3 separate regions of the Homo sapiens genome follow, and all the other regions are linked to region 2. The links are contacts of gene promoters, found by promoter capture Hi-C in blood cells and fetal thymus (Javierre and others, 2016). All regions are on one chromosome and are shown on one strand. The core of a region is centred on a gene start or on the middle of the fragment in contact, and the rest is flanking DNA. Distances in the headings are between cores, read along the strand shown. Region 1 has its middle 55 kb from the start of ZBTB40. Region 2 holds the start of WNT4 (Wnt family member 4). Region 3 has its middle 51 kb from the start of MIR4418.

What was found. Contacts are between HindIII fragments. The CHiCAGO score rates a contact against its expected background, and 5 or more counts as called.
Region 1: a contact is called between a fragment that was not itself captured here and the fragment with the promoter of WNT4 in region 2, in 8 of 17 cell types (megakaryocytes, M2 macrophages, endothelial precursors and 5 more). The highest score is 8.8, in megakaryocytes.
Region 3: a fragment that was not itself captured here is called in contact with the fragment with the promoter of WNT4 in region 2 in 1 of 17 cell types (endothelial precursors); the score reaches 5.4 in endothelial precursors.

Annotation. Positions count from the first base shown.
Region 1 is chr1:22,395,729-22,398,428 of GRCh38, forward strand. No RefSeq gene overlaps it. Among named protein-coding and RNA genes, the nearest start is that of ZBTB40, 55 kb to the right of the region's middle. The HindIII fragment of the contact is 4,522 bases long and covers 1-2,700 here.
Region 2 is chr1:22,141,660-22,144,359 of GRCh38, forward strand. It overlaps WNT4 (Wnt family member 4), which reads right to left and starts at 1,438. Exons shown (of 5, transcript NM_030761.5): 1 at 1,187-1,438. The coding sequence starts at 1,263. The region is part of intron 1 of LOC105376845 (a long non-coding RNA gene); the gene reads left to right. RefSeq lists silencers at 906-965, 1,528-1,857. The HindIII fragment of the contact is 11,467 bases long and covers 1-2,700 here.
Region 3 is chr1:22,316,241-22,318,940 of GRCh38, forward strand. No RefSeq gene overlaps it. Among named protein-coding and RNA genes, the nearest start is that of MIR4418, 51 kb to the left of the region's middle. The HindIII fragment of the contact is 1,049 bases long and covers 778-1,826 here.

The DNA of each region.
Region 1 (2,700 bases), core at 17-2,516, 250 kb after region 2:
TGCAGTGGCATGATCATAGCTCACAGCAGCCTCAAACTCCTGGCCTCAAGTGATCCTCCCTCCTCAGCCTCCCAAAGTGTTGGGATTACAGGCGTGAGCCATCGTGCCCGGCCATTTCTTACACTTTAATAAGCACACGAATCACCTGGCAGGCCTGAGCATCTAACCAGTTCCCAGCTGATGCTAATGCTGTGTTTTCTCCATCCACACTTTGAGTAGGGAGAGTCTACACAACAGCAAATCAATGAGCATCTGGAAATTTGGAAGTTGCCAGGGGTTGGCTGGCTGTCATGGGGCTCCATTGCTTGTGGGTGTGCCACGGAAACATAAATCCCAGAAGAGAACTCTCATATCTCCGAAAGCTCCCATTTAATTCTCAATTGTTGGTCATTCTCCACCCCTCTTTCTGTCACCCTTCCCCCACATGCAATGCATCAGCAAACCCATCAGCTCCATCTTCAAAATATATCTGAAATCTGACCACATCTCGCCCTTCTGCACCACACTCCTTATGATGAAGTCCAAGCCACCATCACCTCTCATCTGCAAGATTACAACTGCCCCTTCCTGGGCTCCCCACTTGCATCCTCGCCTCGCTACAGTTCATCTTCCATACAGCAGCCAGAGGGATTTTTAAAAAGGAACATGAGATCTCTTTCTTACCTTGCTCAAATACGCCAGGAGAGCAAAACTTCAAGTCCTCACCGAGGCCTACGAGGCCCTATGGGATCTGGTTGTTCTGTCACTCTAACCTTACGTCCTACAACTTTCCCCTTTGCTCCTTTCACACCAACTGCACTGGCCCCCTTGCTGCTCCCCATACATGCCCAGCACATTTTTGCCTCAGGGCCTTTGCACTTGTTATACTCTCAGAGAGCCCCAGGGTTCACTCACTTTCTGAGCTCTGATCACTTTAAAATATGGCCTCTCAGAGAACCCATCTCTGACTATCCTGTCCAAAATTGTACTCCCTGCCCTGCCACTCTGTCCCCTGTCCTTGATGTTTTTTTCAAGCACTAATTACTTCCTGACATTGTGTTTTACATAATTTGGTTATGTGACCCTGCTCCCCGTAGAAAGTAGGCTGTCCGTGGACAGAGACTCTCTCTGTCTCGTTTCATCTCTGTGTCTATAGAGCATAGAACAGTGCCTGGCACATAGCAGGGGTTCAGTAAATATTTGCTGAATGAATGAATATTGTTTTGCATAGGATGTATTTGTACACACACCAGGGCTTTTCACCTAGATGATGTTCTTATTGAGGGAAAGCATTGTAAACCCCTAAAGCACTTCCCAAGGAGGCATCCAAATTGTCTTGAACAATTGCAGTTTTCTTGGTATAAACTGGAAATTGAATGTCCACAGCAAGTACACAGCATCCTTGCTTCCATTCTTCTCTTCTGCTCACATGACACACATTATTTATAGATCATGGTAAACAAGTTTTCCCCCAGTGAGGGTTTGAAATCTTGGACAGGTGAGGTGCTGGTGGGGCAGCCCTCATCACAGAAAGCACCCTGGCCATGGAGGTCTGGATATTTTCCCTTGACATGACTTGCAGCTGGAAAAGACCACAAATGTGACAGAGGACAGAATGCCCAGAGGGCTGGGACTAAGCAGCTGAAATTGACAAAAACGAAGTCCAAGCAAGGTCAATGTTGTCCTTCGTTCAACCTCCTGAAAAAACCAAGCATCACCATTTGCCCTGTGGAGATAATATAAAGTGTGGTAGAGATGCATGTCTCAAGCTCTTTTTCACAATCTTCTTTGTATTGGTGAAAACTGGAAACAGGAAGGTGTTGGAGCCAAATCTCATAGGTCTTCATGATGAACTACTAAAGGCAGATTCTCAACCTTGGCACTATCCACATTTAGGGCCAGTAATTTGTTGTTTTGGGGGCTGTTTTGTGTATCATAGGACGTTTAGTAGCCAGTAGCGATGCCCCTCACCCCACCCGTTGTAACAACCAAACATGTCTCCAGCCATTGCCAACTGTCCCCTGGGGGGCCGAATCGCCTCTGGCTGAGAACCATGACTGTTACTTCAAGAAGAATAATGCTTCTTAATACCATGGGAAATGCTTATGCTGTTAGGCTGAGTTAAGGAAAAAGGTGCAAAATGTGTTTTCAACTATATTCATATGAATATAAACAGTGACATAGAAGAAATTTAGGAAGAAATATGCCAAGACGTTAACAGTGATCTCTGGGTGGTGGAATGATGAAAGATTTTGCCTTACTTCTTTATTTTTGCTTTTATACGTTCCTTCATTTGTTCAACAAATATTTATTGAGCACCTACTACATGTCAGGTGTTGTTTTAGGACCTAGGGAGAAGCTGTGTAAGATAGACATTCCTGTGGCTGTGTACAAGACAGACATACCCATGAGGGGACAGGCATTATATAGGACTCTGCCCTCACAGAATTGATGATGTTCTATGGAAGGATACACATGAACCCCATAGCCTGTAAAGAACAATACTCTGGGGCTGGGCGCGGTGGCTCACACCTGTAATAGCACCTCGGGAGGCCGAGGCAGGTTGATCACTTGAGCCCAGGAGTTCAAGACCAGCCTGGGCAACATGGCAAAACCCTGTCTCTACTAAAAATATAAAAATTAGCCAGATGTGATAGTGCATGCCTGTAGTCCCAGCTACTGAGAAGGCTGAGGTGGGAGGATCACTTGAGCCCGGGAGAT
Region 2 (2,700 bases), core at 188-2,687:
AAGCCCTGGGTGGCTCTGACCCCAACGAACACACTCCTTCCAGCCTGGAGGGCTCTGGCTGGCCACAATGACCTCATAGCAACAGCCATTGGACACTCGGGGCAATTTCATGGGAGATATTTGTTCTTTGGTCTTGATGCAGAGAGAATTTTTTCCTCTCTCCCTGTCTCCATGGAAACCCCAGCTACACTGTTGGCGATCCCCCTTCCCACCCCATGCTTTTCAGATCAATATTGGAGCTTGGCTCCCCACTGGCTGCCCACAGCGGATGGTGGCAGAGCTCTGGGCAGGAGGAACTGGGGCCAGGGTTAAGCGCGGGGCATGGGGAACTGTCCCTGAGCGGGGATGAAAGGAGCGCGGGTCCGCTTGCTCCCTGTCCACCCACTCACTGGAGCTCATCCCTTTAGTCTCCCTCCCTGCAGCAAACCTTCCGCCCCTACCCAGGGAGCGCCCTGAGCGCAGATCCAGTCAAGGAGAAACAGACAGGTCACCAGCGGTTACCACCCCTTCCTCCTTAGGCTAGACACGGGGAGCTGGGGGGCCGTTGTCTTCTTTAAGGTCTGGACGGAGTTTCTTCCTGCCCCGGGGAAAAACCAAGGCCCGGCCAGCGCCAGCGCCAGCCCCGGGCCCTGGGAGACCAGGCGTCCTGGTCCCTTCCTTCTGTCTCCGGCTCCCGCCCCCCAAGCAGAAACAGGTCCCTGCACGCCTCCAGCCCAGCCCGCAGCGCGGCGCAGCTCGGCGCAGCTCGGCGCTGGGAGCTCGCTCCGGACTTCTCGGGATTAACCTGCTATTATGTCCCGGAGCCCTTCCCTGCAATGGGCTTCCTCAGCGACCTGTCAGCCCGGCTGGACTGCAACCCGCGTCCGGCGCCCCTCCCGGGCCACCGCCCCGCGCTCGCACCCCTGGCGCCCTCGAGAGCCCCGAGCCGCCTACCGGTGCGGACGCCGCCACAGCCACCCCTGACGCCTCTGGGCAGGGAGCCGGACCCGGGCAGGAGGGGACCCCGGGTGTGCAGAGGGACGTTCGGGCCGTGGCGGCGGCAGCGGAGCGAGCGAGCCTCCGGTCCCGCGGCCGAGACACCTGCCGGGCTGCCCCGCGCCCGCTGCCCCGCGCCGCCTGGCACCGGCCGCTGCCCCCGGGGCCTGCCCCGCCCCGCCCCGCCCCGCTCGGCCCCGGCCAGACTTACAGCCAGTTGCTCGCGGCGGCTGAGAAGACGGCGAAGACGAGGAGGCGCAGCGAACGCAGGCACGAGCGGGGACTCATGGTGCCGCCGCGGGCGCCCGGCCCGGGGCAGCGGCTGCGGCCGCGGGGGGCCTCCCGTCGGGGCTGCAGGTGGGCGCCCGCGGGCGGGCCGGGGCGCGCGCGGCGGGGCTCTGCCTCCGTGTGCCTGCCGGCAGCCTGCCCGCTGCTGCGCCCGCTGCCCGGCGCGGACCAGACTGTCAGCGCCGCCCCAGAGCCGGGATGCGGCGGCGGCGGCGGCGGCGGCGGCGGCGGAGGCGGGCGGGCGGGCGGGCGGCCGGGGGGGCGGGCCGGGGGCGGGCCGAGGATGGGGTTACCTGGGCGGGCCCAGCGGCCCGGGACACCCCCCCGGGGGCGGGCCGGAGCGGCGGCGGCTGCCGCCTTAGCCCGCGGGACTGGGCTGCTCCCGGGGCCTCCCCGGCTGGGCGCTCCGGAGGACTTGGGGCCCGAGCCCGCTCCAGGCACGCCTGGCTGCGCGCCGCCGAGCCCGGCCCGGCTAGAGGCGCGGCGACCCAGCTGCCCGGCCGCCGCCCGGGCCTAGGGGACAGGCGGGCACAGCTCCCCCAACCCGCCGCTGCGGGCACTGCAGCGCGGCCCTCGCTGTCCCCCTACCCCCCCCACCGCCCCCCGCCGGCGCCTGGAGCCCAGACCCCGGTCCGACCGCGGCGGACCCACCGGAGCGCGGCTACCACTCGCGCGCACCCAGGCGCTGGCGCTCCGGGTGCCTGGGGCTGCACATCGGGGCGCTGGATGTCTCCCGACCGCCCCCCGCCCGGCCCCTCCCTGCCTCCTGGCCCCCGCGTCCTGCGGCCCAGCCCCTCCCTGGCGCTCACCTCCCTACAGCCTTCCGGGAGCTGGACGGGGCCTCCCCAGCTTTGGGCAGCTTGGGACAGTGGCCCGAGACTGTGGGAATCCGAAACCTCGCTTCTGGCTAGCCACAAGGTCTGGGCGCGCCCCAGGCAGCAGGGTCTTGACTCTGAGCCTCCGTTTTCTCATCCGGGAAGTGGGCTTAAGACGCTGTGATTGGGAGGACAGGAGGAGTTTAGGGAAGCTCTCTTGGCTCACTCACCAAGTCTTACTTTGCATTTGGTTTTCTATGTGCTTGTTCGATTTATCCTCCCATACTAGGCAGATTCAGCCTCTTGTTTGTTTTGGGCACAGGGCGGTGCCTGCCATGTTTGTGGAAGGAATAAATGAATGGAATGGAATGGGCTGCAACAGCCTGTGCTTGGCTAGTCCAGAGAGCTCAATTCCACATCACTGTAACCCCTAAGAATTGTCTGCCCAAGTCCACGCCACACCCTCTCAGGTCACTGATCTGATTCTGTGTGCTACTCATCCTCCAGGCTGCATCCCCCAGCTGCTCACAGGTAGAGGGACCTCTTATCTAAACAGTAAAACTAAGGCCCGGAAAGGGAGGCACCTGTCCCACCTCCCTAGGGGTTGGGAACAGAGGCAAGG
Region 3 (2,700 bases), core at 52-2,551, 170 kb after region 2:
CCTAAATGGAGGTGCAAGTCCCTCTGTGCTTGGATTTCCACTGTTCACTCCTGCAGGATGCTGGACAGTGGTCAACAAATGCTTTCTGGGGTGAAGGAGAGTCATTGGTGTCCAATTAATTGGAATAACACTAATACATCTTTATACATCTTTAATTCACCAGTTTATAAAACACAAACTGGGAATGAACAAGACCCCTGGAGAGAAAAAATGAATGAGAAGGTGGGGGCTGGGCTGTCTCCCACCCCCCGCCACCACCAGCCTTCTGTATGCATTTACCCTTTAGGTCCTCACAGCAGGAATGGGGCTGGGGTTGGATTGTTTTTAATTTCAATTTTTTGGTTACAAAATTAGTACATGCTTATTGGTTTAAAATTTTTCAGGCTGGGAGCTGCGGCTCACGCCTGTAATCCCAGCACTTTGGGAGGCTGAGGCGGGCTGATCATGAGGTCAGGAGATCGAGACAGCCTGGCCAAGATGGTGAAACCCTGTCTCTACTAAAGATACAAAAATTAGCCAGGTGTGGTGGTGTGTGCCTGTAATCCCAGCTACTCGGGAGGCTGAGGCAGAAGAATTGCTTGAACTCGGGAGGCAGAGGTTGCGTGAGCCAAGATGCCGAGATCACGCCACTGCACACCAGCCTGAATGACGGAGCAAGACTCCGTCTCAAAAAAAAAAAAAAAAAAAATTCAAAGAGTGTATAGAGTAGGAAATGAAAATCATCCACCTCTCCCTCTCCATGACCCTTCTACCACCTGTTTGGGGCATTTCCTTCCAAGCTTTTGCATGCATAGCGAACATATAAATAAAGGGGTTTGCTTTTGTTTTTGTTTTTAACAAACATGGGAACAGATTTGCCCTTTTAACTTAATATACCCTGGATGTCTTCCCTTATCAATGATCACAAGGTAGATATGATGGCCTCATGTTATTGACTAAAATGGCTGGGAGAGGTCAAGGCTTTTGCTCAAGATCACACACAGGTGAGTGGCAGAGCTGGGCCTGGGATCCGGGTCTGTCTGAATCTGGAGCAGCAGGCCTCTGTGCTGTGCGGAAACACAGTCATCAGCCGTTCTTAGCATCTCGGCACCTCCTGGTAAGAGGAACTTGTTTCTGGAGGTAGACAGCTGAGAGAGGCAGGAGATAGGGCAGAAACAGTGATTGTGGGGCTGGGAACATTGTTCCAGGACTAGGGGCCCAGCCAGGGAAGGCACAGCCCCCTGCAGGTCTGGGCGGGTAATGCAAAGGGGCCAGGAGGAAGGGGGCTGGGTGCTGGGACCTCTTAAGTGGCCCCTGTTGTCTCTGCCAGGCTCCCACCAGGCATACTCACCTTCTTTTTTTGAGACAGGGTCTCATCTGTCACCCAGGCTGGAGTGCAGTGGTGCAATCATAGCTCACTGCAGCCTTGAACTCCTGGGCTCAAACGATCCTCTGGCCTCGGCCTCCCAAAGTACTGAGGTAGACTGCAGGTGTGAGCCACCATCCTTGGACACTCACCTTCTTGATGCTATCTTTGCCCCTTGTCTATCTGAGCCAGCCTGAAGCTCTGAGCCCCCTCCAGTGGGCCTGGCTGGCCTGCAGCCTCTCTCCCATCCTGTCCATGGCTCAGCCGCTATGTGGGCAAAGTAGTCAGCGTTGCCTGCTTCCCACCCCGTATAGGCTCAGAGGCATTAGTCTGGCCTCTCTCTAAGGGATGCCGGGATTCCCTGGAGCACCCGGCAGGTGGTCATTCAACTTTTGTTTGGATGACTTCAGAGATGGGTAGCTCATTACCTTCCAAGGAAGCTGGTTCCATCTTGAATGACTACAATGGGTGGTGGGGAACAAGCTTGGGCCCTGAGGCAGAGCCAGGTGTGTGGGGAGACTGGAGGAGCTGATTGATGCATATAAGTCTGCTCCAGTTGTGTGTGAGAGGAGGGAGTCGGTGAGCCTCAGTTTCCCCCTCTGGCTTCCTTTGGATCAGTGTTGACCTAACTGCAGGTCACAAACTATGAATGAGTCATGACATTAATTTAGTGAGTTGTGACCAGCATTTTTAAAAAGGAATAGAACAGAATAAGATAGAAAATATCAGCATGCATTTCAAGAATTTAGAGGTATCTCTTTCTTGAGACTTTTGCTGTTGGCGTGGGGGCCGCATGCTGGTACAGTGGGCACAGAGGTGTCTTATGGGATGGGTGGGGGCAGGGGCCTCCAGCAGCTCTGAGGGTGGCCTGGAGGGGCCTCTTCCTGCCCACCCTGCACACGCATCCGAGTCCAAGCAGGGGCCCCAGGGGCGGTGGGAACAGGGAGACCCTCTCAGCTCTCCCCTGTGCATCTCGTGGGCTTGGAGTAGTCCCATAAATCGTCTGCCCGGAGTCAGGGGCATAGAACTCCCTGATTTATGCCCCGCCAGGTCCGCCCCCTCTGCCTCCCTCTCGGGCTTTGTGGGGCCAAGGCCTGGCAGGCTGCTGGCTCCAGACGGCCCCTGCGGTTGCCGTGGCGACAGGTTCAGGCTGGGCCATTATCCCGGCTCCCTCACCGCTTCCCGCCCTCAGGCAACCCTCCCTCCCTCGCTCGCATCAGGGCTGGCATTTGAACAGCACCGCGGGCTTCTTCTCCATAAGCCTGGCCCCTCCTGCAGGATGCCCCCCAAGTCCAGTGGGACCCATGCATCCCTGTCACAGTGAAGTGCAGACTTGGAACTCACTAAGGCAAGGA